Regions from separate parts of the Homo sapiens genome. Here region 2 is linked to region 1. The links are contacts of gene promoters, found by promoter capture Hi-C in human tissues and cell types (Jung and others, 2019). All regions are on one chromosome and are shown on one strand. The core of a region is centred on a gene start or on the middle of the fragment in contact, and the rest is flanking DNA. Distances in the headings are between cores, read along the strand shown.

Region 1 (3,824 bases), core at 897-3,396:
CCATCTCTTCAAAATTGTCTCCCAGAAAAACTGAAAATTCACCTGCTGGGTATGCAGAAAATTATGCAGATGTGAAATCAGTGTAGAGACAACTTTGGAGTTTATGTCTGAGTATGCTGCCAATATAATTTTCATATTCAGACTTTTTAGAGACAGGGTTTCACTCTGTCATGCAGGCTGGGGTGCAGTGGTGTGATTATAGCTCATGGAAGCCTCAAACTCCTGGACTCAAGGGATCCTCCTGCCTCAGACTCCCAAAGTGCTGGGATTACAGGCATGTGCCATCACATCCGGCTAATTTTTTTTTTTGTAGAGATGAATCTTACTATGTTGTCCAGGCTGGTCTCAAACTACTGGCCTCAACCGAGTCTCCTGCTTTGGCCTTCCAAAGTGCTGGGAATACAGGCATGAGCCATCATGCCTGGCCCATATCCAAATATTTTATGTTTGGTCAAAAATAGAAAATTCTATTATAAAAAATAAAGTTACTATGGCAACATTTTCCCAACATAGTTCCCAGTATATAAACTTATTTTTCTTAAAATGATAACAAGGTAGCTCAATAACAATACAATACCAGTGATAACCAAATATAATTGAATTTTTCTAAAACTACATTCTTACATTCCCTATCCACTCAACTCTTGTAATGGTTTTCCACTTTTAAAAACTATCAAAATAGGATTTTTAAAAATTTATCAAGACCACATAATGCAGTTGAACACTCAAAGTGTTCCATGCAACTGTGGTTGAACTATTCAGATTCCAGACTTCTACCAAGAACAATCCAAAGAGCAAACTCCCAAAATGACCTCCTGCGTGGTACAAAACAAGCCAGGCTGAAATTTCGGGAAACCTAAGGGATCTTATCCAGAACCATATTTTGGAAAACTGTGATCAATCAATTTTTTGACAGTGAAAGAGAGTAACTTTCCAGAGTATGTGTTAATTATATCTCTATCAAGCTTTAAAAAGTTAACAGATACTTAACTCTTGTTCATAAAAAATGAGGCCCTCAAGCTAATTAAGATGACTGGGAAAGGTGCAGAGGAGTAATTAATTTTGGAGGCGCTCTGGGAACAGGTACACAGGGTACAGTAGTCATCATCATTAAAACAACAGGCACTCAGCTCTACTGAAAAGGCTGATGACAGCAGCCCCTCCCAAGCGGATCTGTAAAGTGCCACTGAATCCATGTTCATTCACCTACTCCAGGTTGTGGTCAATTGTAAGTAATCCTGAAATTCTCATTTCTGCTCATGCTGACAAACTTATCATCTAGAAGTACTGGTTATTCAATTAATTTTTAAAATATTCGGATATACCCTGCAAATAAATATAAAACATCTCTGTACCCAAACAGTCCCACCACTATAAAAGGTTACATATAAATTAAATAAACTCAGATTTCTTAACCATTTTCTCAGCTTAAGTTTGCCCTCACCCTAAATGAAGTCCAATTTATATCCAAAATATAATTAAATATTCCAAAGGTATATCGAACCTAAGATATTGAAAAAATGTAAACAAAATTTATCTAGCTTACATTTATGAACCATATTTTTAGGTTTTTAATTCATCCTGTACTGACCCTCTGAAAAAAAAAACTAATCAAGTTATGTTTAGACTGAAAGCTGATTTGGATTTTAAAGTGGTTCCTTGGAGACAACTCTCAATGACTAAAACCAGTGTTATTGAATCAAGTGGTTTACTGTATCATTCAACTTAAAAGACCAAAATATTTCCTTTCTCTCTTCCAATAAAGCTCTTTCTGGATGAGCCCCCAGATCCAGCTGTCCTAGGTAAACGTGCTGAACTGGCTGGAGATCCTGCAGTAATGCTTGGCACAGAACCAAGGCTGGGTATCAAGCAACCTCATGACTTCCACTGCAACTGTTTAACATCCCCAATTCCTGGTTTTTCAGTCCAGTTGGCTGAAAAGGATGGAAACTGGAGTGTAAAGTAGAGAAGCAGAAAGAGAAACATAGATTGATCCTCAAAAGAAAATCAAAGAATCCATTCATCACAGTGTCATCCTCATACTCCACAGTCAGACTGCTTCTCCTGAAGCTGCCTTGTTAGTATCTGATATGAAGACAGAAAAGCCACTCCTATGTGGAAAAGGATTTGCCAGAGGTTCCTCAGCCCGTGCAGGTACATGTTGCCCAGGCAAATAAAGAGCAGCATAAGCACCACCTTCATAGTCCTGGCTGGACTGTAGAACAGGTACAAATAACACTGAAATGAGACCAGAAGAGGAATTCCAATCAGAGATAAAATGGCCACTAGATCATATGCAAAATTCACCTCCCACAGCTTCCATGAAGAGTGTCATTTCTCTCACATTAGCTGATTAAACTGAATTCATTACAGTAAAGCGTGGACCCACTGGTTAGGCTGCTAATTATTGGACGAAAGTGAGGATTTGGAAGATTAAAGGAAAGTGAAATAGATGTCACAGGAAGAATCAGTGCATGGCACATCTGAAAGAAGTTAAAGAAATAGACAGAAATGACCAGGCTGTTGGCAGTAGAGAAAGAAGAGCTGCACATAAGCTGCAGACAGCCAGGCTGCAGACAGGGGACCCTAACGTGACTGACTGGCCCCCCAGTGAAGTTTTTCTTCAGGGAGCCAGGACAGGCAAGCAAGCTGGTGAGAGAAAGCCATGCTTTTACTATTTTGGTTTCTCCTGAGCCACGACTACATTGAGCACCACTCTTCCCTTGGGCACCCTCCTTATCATGTCTTCCAAAGCATCTCTGAGTCAGGGAAAGGTCTCACAGCAGGGAGAGTGACTGGTATTTTGTGTATGACTATCACACATAAAAGGGGCCATTCTTGTTCTGCAAAAGGTGGAAACGGCATTTTGGTTCAATGCTTTGTTTTTTTTTTTTAAAAAAAGGACATCACTGAACATGGATCAATCTGACAAAGGTTCAATCTACAGAGGGAGGGAGTGAGCTATCCAACCAGGAACACAGTTGAAGGAATGAGGTGGAACTGTACAATCCCTGCAGTCCTAAAACATAGCTCTAGGAAACTGCCACTGGCTATGTCCAAGGTCTTGGAGACTTGTTTTCTAAAAAATGAATGCATTTTCATGGGTTGAAAATTTCTTTTTGCATAATCAGGTAATGCTTTTTCATTTTTTTTAGGCAATGTCTTTCTCTGTTGCCCAGGCTGGAACACAGTGGCGTGATCTCAGCTCACCGCAACCTCCACCTCCAGGGTTCAAGCAATTCTCATGCCTAAGCCTCCCAAGTAGCTGGGACTACAGGTATGCACCACCATAATCAGCTGATTTTTGTATTTTTATTATAATAGAGATGGGGTTCCCTAGGCTGGTCTTGAACTCCTGGCCTCAAGTGATCCACACATCTTGGCCTCCCAAAGTGCTAGGATTACAGGCATGAGTCACCACACCTGGCCTGGGTAATTCTTAAGAATAAACCATTCTAGGATGTATGTGGAAGAGAAGGAAAGCGTCCTAAGAACAGAAATTTTAATTTTAAAAAAAGGGAGAAAAAATATGTATTCAGAGACAGTGCTAAAATCCTAGTCCATACGGAGGACAAGGAAGGAGAATTAGAGCCACGCTTTCACTAGAATTAACTCTGCCTATGAGGGACTCAAAATCGCCTCTTTATGCCACCCCTTAGTACACAGCTTATATGAAAATAACTAATCAAAACCCTCTAGTTAATGTTCTAATGTTTGCTTCAGTTCCTAAAGAACAGGTCTGAGTCAGAAGGTATTACTATTTAAAACAACAACAACAACAACAACAAAAAAATCAGCAGTTCTTTGACCTAGTCTTATATATG
Region 2 (3,743 bases), core at 798-3,297, 290 kb before region 1:
ATAAATAAAGCCGTATTTATAAAGTTTTTCTCAAAGTGTACGTGGGAAATGGCAATAAGCCACTACGCAGAACATAGGCAGGTTTTAAAATCAGAAATATGTGCCCAGCGCTCAGGCTTCGAAAGCCCCGTGCATTTTAGATCGCTAGTGGATAAAACACCCTCAAGTTTCTATCCGTAAAGCCTCGAAATTTTCTGCAGTATTTAGAAAATGAATTTAAATCTTAAAACCCTCTAATATTTTATTAGAAAAGATTGCAAAGTCCCCCGCACCGCTGTGTAACAGCTAGCAAACTCAATCTGCATGCGAATCTTAGCGAATGGGTAGTTCATCCCTTAATGATGCTGGCGTATGAAAGGCTCTAAAGCAGCTCTACCCACCCAGACCTCACTTTTAGACCCAGAGCCGTTATTTCTGACTTCAAGAAATGTCTTTCGAGCTCTCGGAGGGAAGACACAGAAAATAGAAAAGCATAATGGAAATGGGCACAAAGCTGAAGACAGCATCCTTCAAAGACACACGACACTTGGATCCCCCGCTGACGAACCGAGGGACCTACCTTTTGGATTAGGACGCAGCTGGCTTGGCGTTTCCAACCGGAGCAGCCCGGCAGCTGAGCCAAGTTCAGGGAGGACCAGCGGGCGGCTGTCTCTTAAATAGCCCCACCCGGCGGCGTCGGCCAGTCATGTATTTACCCAACGCTGACGCAGACTGGCAGTAACACGTGCTCAGAGGGCGGCCACTGGGGCGACAACCGGTTGAAGTGGCTCCTGGGAGAGAGGGGGAGGTGGTCTAGTGGGGTGGAGTTAATCCCTCCCACGCGCGGTGCCGGGTGTCCGCCCCCTCTGGGTCCGAGAAGCTTCCGCCCAACCCTTTCCAGGTGCCGCTCCCCTGCGCATTCCAGAGCAGTACTCTCCAAGGTGGGAAACCTAGGAGTTTGGAGTCTCCTCCGGGATGGAGAAGCTGCCGCTAGCTTAGTTCGCTTTGGGGACCGGAGGGGCTAGAAAGGAAACTGGGGGCGGGGGTGGGGGGTGGACACTGGGCAGGACTGAGCATCAGCAAGGCGTGATTCTGAAAGGGAGGGGGCGTCGGCCCCCTACCCCGGAGCGTCCGAGGCGCTGGTCTTCATACCTGTGTCGGCTCTTTCGAAGGAGAGAGGAGGAGTCGGGGTCTTCACTTTCTTCTCAGCCGCATTAAAAGCCCTCGCAGTTCTCCAGGTTTCCGAGGGCCAGTGTTCTGGGTCAGTGAAAGGGCTCTGGCCACAGCTGGCTCTTGGTGTCCTGGGCCTCTCTTGACGCAGCTGTAAAATGCGGATGACACCATCTGGTTTTGCTCAGAGGAATCCGGTTTGGGAAAGGGATGTGTTTTCTTCCCGGGCCAAGTTACCACCACCCGCGGCGCCCACTGTTCCCCGTTGTCGACAAGCGGCGCCAGCGAGGGTCCTGGGGAACTTGACCACCGCACCCCCGCAAGCTCGGGTAGACCACGGCATCCGCCCCTCGCACCTTTCCTGAGGGCCCACACACTCACACCCCCAGGACAGTACCTTCCAGAACTCAGCTGCGCAGCCTGGAGGTGAGGACCTCACCCCTAGTCAGTCACCCGTCCGGTGGAGGGAAGGGAGGCACCGAGGCTGCCGTGCGCCTTTCCCTGCACGCGGTTACTCTCCCGGCTCCGGAGCGGGCCGACCTGGAGCCCCTCAGTGCGCTCTGGTCGTCTACACCCTGAAACCCTTTGAGTTCGAGTCCGCTTGCTGGTGCTTGAGTTCGCCGCGTCCCTGCAAAGGCACTGCCAACCCCATTTCACAGACCGCAAACCGAGGCGCGAGGAAGAGCAGCGCCTTGCCAAGGCTCCACAACACGCCCCTCGCCCTCTCCGTGCACCGAGGCCGCCCAGCCTGGGACCTGGAGATCACCAGGCCTTGAACCTTGGGACCTCAACTCCTCTCCCTTTCTTTCCCCCACCCGTCTTAGATGCAAGGAGAAAGATTTAGAAGCGCTTATTTTAAAATCGGAATCCGTATTCCGCTCTGGAATTCCCTCTGGAATGGAGGGACTGTGGCAACGCCAGTGTGAGGGTGGAGTGGGCGAGGCGGGGTGGGGGGGTTGGGGGGGCGGCCCAGAGACGCCTCCGGTTGCTGCTCCACTTTCTAATCCTGAGAGGCAGCTGCGTTTCTGCAACCTATGGGCAACATGTTTGAAAGAGCTGAAGCTGATTAAATGCTTTCCAGTGGTTTCGCCACGAGCCTGCTAAGGTTTGTGTAGTTCAGTTGCGAAAAAGAGTCTTATTTGTGATTGTGGCAAGACATGTCTGGAAACATAAACTTGTTATCGAAATACCCCCAGAGCTTCTAATTCAGTAGGTCTGAGGAAGGGCCCAAGAATCCGAATTCCTTCCTTCCTTCCTTCCTTCCTTCCTTCCTTCCTTCCTTCCTTTCTTCCTCCTTCCCTCCTTCCCTCCCTCCCTCCCTTCCTTCCTCCCTCCCTCCCTCCCTTCCTCCCTCCTTCCCTCCCTCTCTCCCCTTCCCTCTTTCCCTCTCTCCCTTCCTTCCTTCCTTCCTTCCTTCCTTCCTTCCTTCCTTCCCTCCCTCCTTCCTTCCTTCCTTCCCCCCTCCCTCCCTCCGTCTCTCCTTCTCCCTCTTTCCCTCTTTCTCTCTCTCTTTCTTTCTTTCTTCTTTATTTCTTTCTTTCTTTCTTCATTTCCTTCCTTCCTTCCTTCCTTCCTTCCTTCCTTCCTTCCTTCCTTCCTTCCTTTCCTTGCCTTTCCTTCTTTGAGACAGAGTCTCACTCTGTCGCCCAGGCTGGAGTACAGTGGCATGATCTCGGCTCACTGCAACCTCTGCCTCCCAGGTTCAAACGATTCTCCTGCCTCAGCCTCCCCAGCGGCTGGGATTACAGGCATGTGCAGCCATGCCTGGCTAATTTTTATATTTTTAGTAGAGACAAGGGTTCACCATGTTGGCTAGGTTGGTCTCGAACTTCTGACCTCAGGTGATCTACCCACCTTGGCCTCCCAAAATGCTGGGACTACAGGCGTGAGCCACCACGCCCCACCAAGAATCTACATTTCTAACAAGTTCCCAGGCCATACTGAAAATGCTAGTCCGCCAAGCACACTTTGAGATCATTTCTATAGAAATTCCCTACCTTATACCAGTTACTCAACTCCTGGCCTTGATCCATTTAATTCATGTTTATTCAACACTTACTTTGTGCCAGGCCCCAGGGATTCAGTATGAACAAGAGCTGACAATACAATAGGGGAGCTGAAGCAAACAAGTGGACAAACACTTCTCAACAATTCTGATATTTGGGGACTATGGAGTGGAGATGGTAGGAGGTAATCTTGGAGAAATGTTTTGGTGAGGGGAGCTAGGTGGTAATATGGAAGATGCCCAAAAGGCAGAGGGACTGGAAGGGGAGGGCTGGATAGGAGGCCCTCGGGGATGGGCAAGCAGGAACAATCAAGGTAGATTTGTTTTAGAATAATAAGCCATTATGAAACCCATTAATTATTAGGAAACATAATAAACATTATGCAAGTCATAAGTGTTCATCAGAGAACATTCAGAAAACAAAAGTAGAGAAAAGAAGAAAAATTCCAGCCTCCCAGGGAACAACCTGTTGCTGCTCAGGAAACTGGTAGAGGGAACCGGACTTGGTGACTGAGACTGACCTTGAGTTTCCAGGCTGGGAGACAAGGGTGGGTGGTAGAGTATTATCCAAGACAGGGAATTCAGAAGG

The links. Contacts are between HindIII fragments. The study calls those that stand out against the background at their distance.
Region 2: the fragment with the promoter of CCK here is called in contact with a fragment that was not itself captured in region 1 in 1 of the 25 tissues and cell types used here (thymus).

Annotation. Positions count from the first base shown.
Region 1 is chr3:42,551,211-42,555,034 of GRCh38, forward strand. SEC22C (SEC22 homolog C, vesicle trafficking protein) reads right to left here. Exons shown (of 7, transcript NM_032970.4): 7 at 1-2,238. The coding sequence ends at 2,038. Among named protein-coding and RNA genes, the nearest start is that of VIPR1-AS1, 21 kb to the left of the region's middle. The HindIII fragment of the contact is 7,415 bases long and covers 1-3,824 here.
Region 2 is chr3:42,264,138-42,267,880 of GRCh38, forward strand. It overlaps CCK (cholecystokinin), which reads right to left and starts at 2,048. Exons shown (of 5, transcript NM_000729.6): 1 at 1,547-2,048; 2 at 1,132-1,300; 3 at 560-770. The HindIII fragment of the contact is 4,994 bases long and covers 399-3,743 here.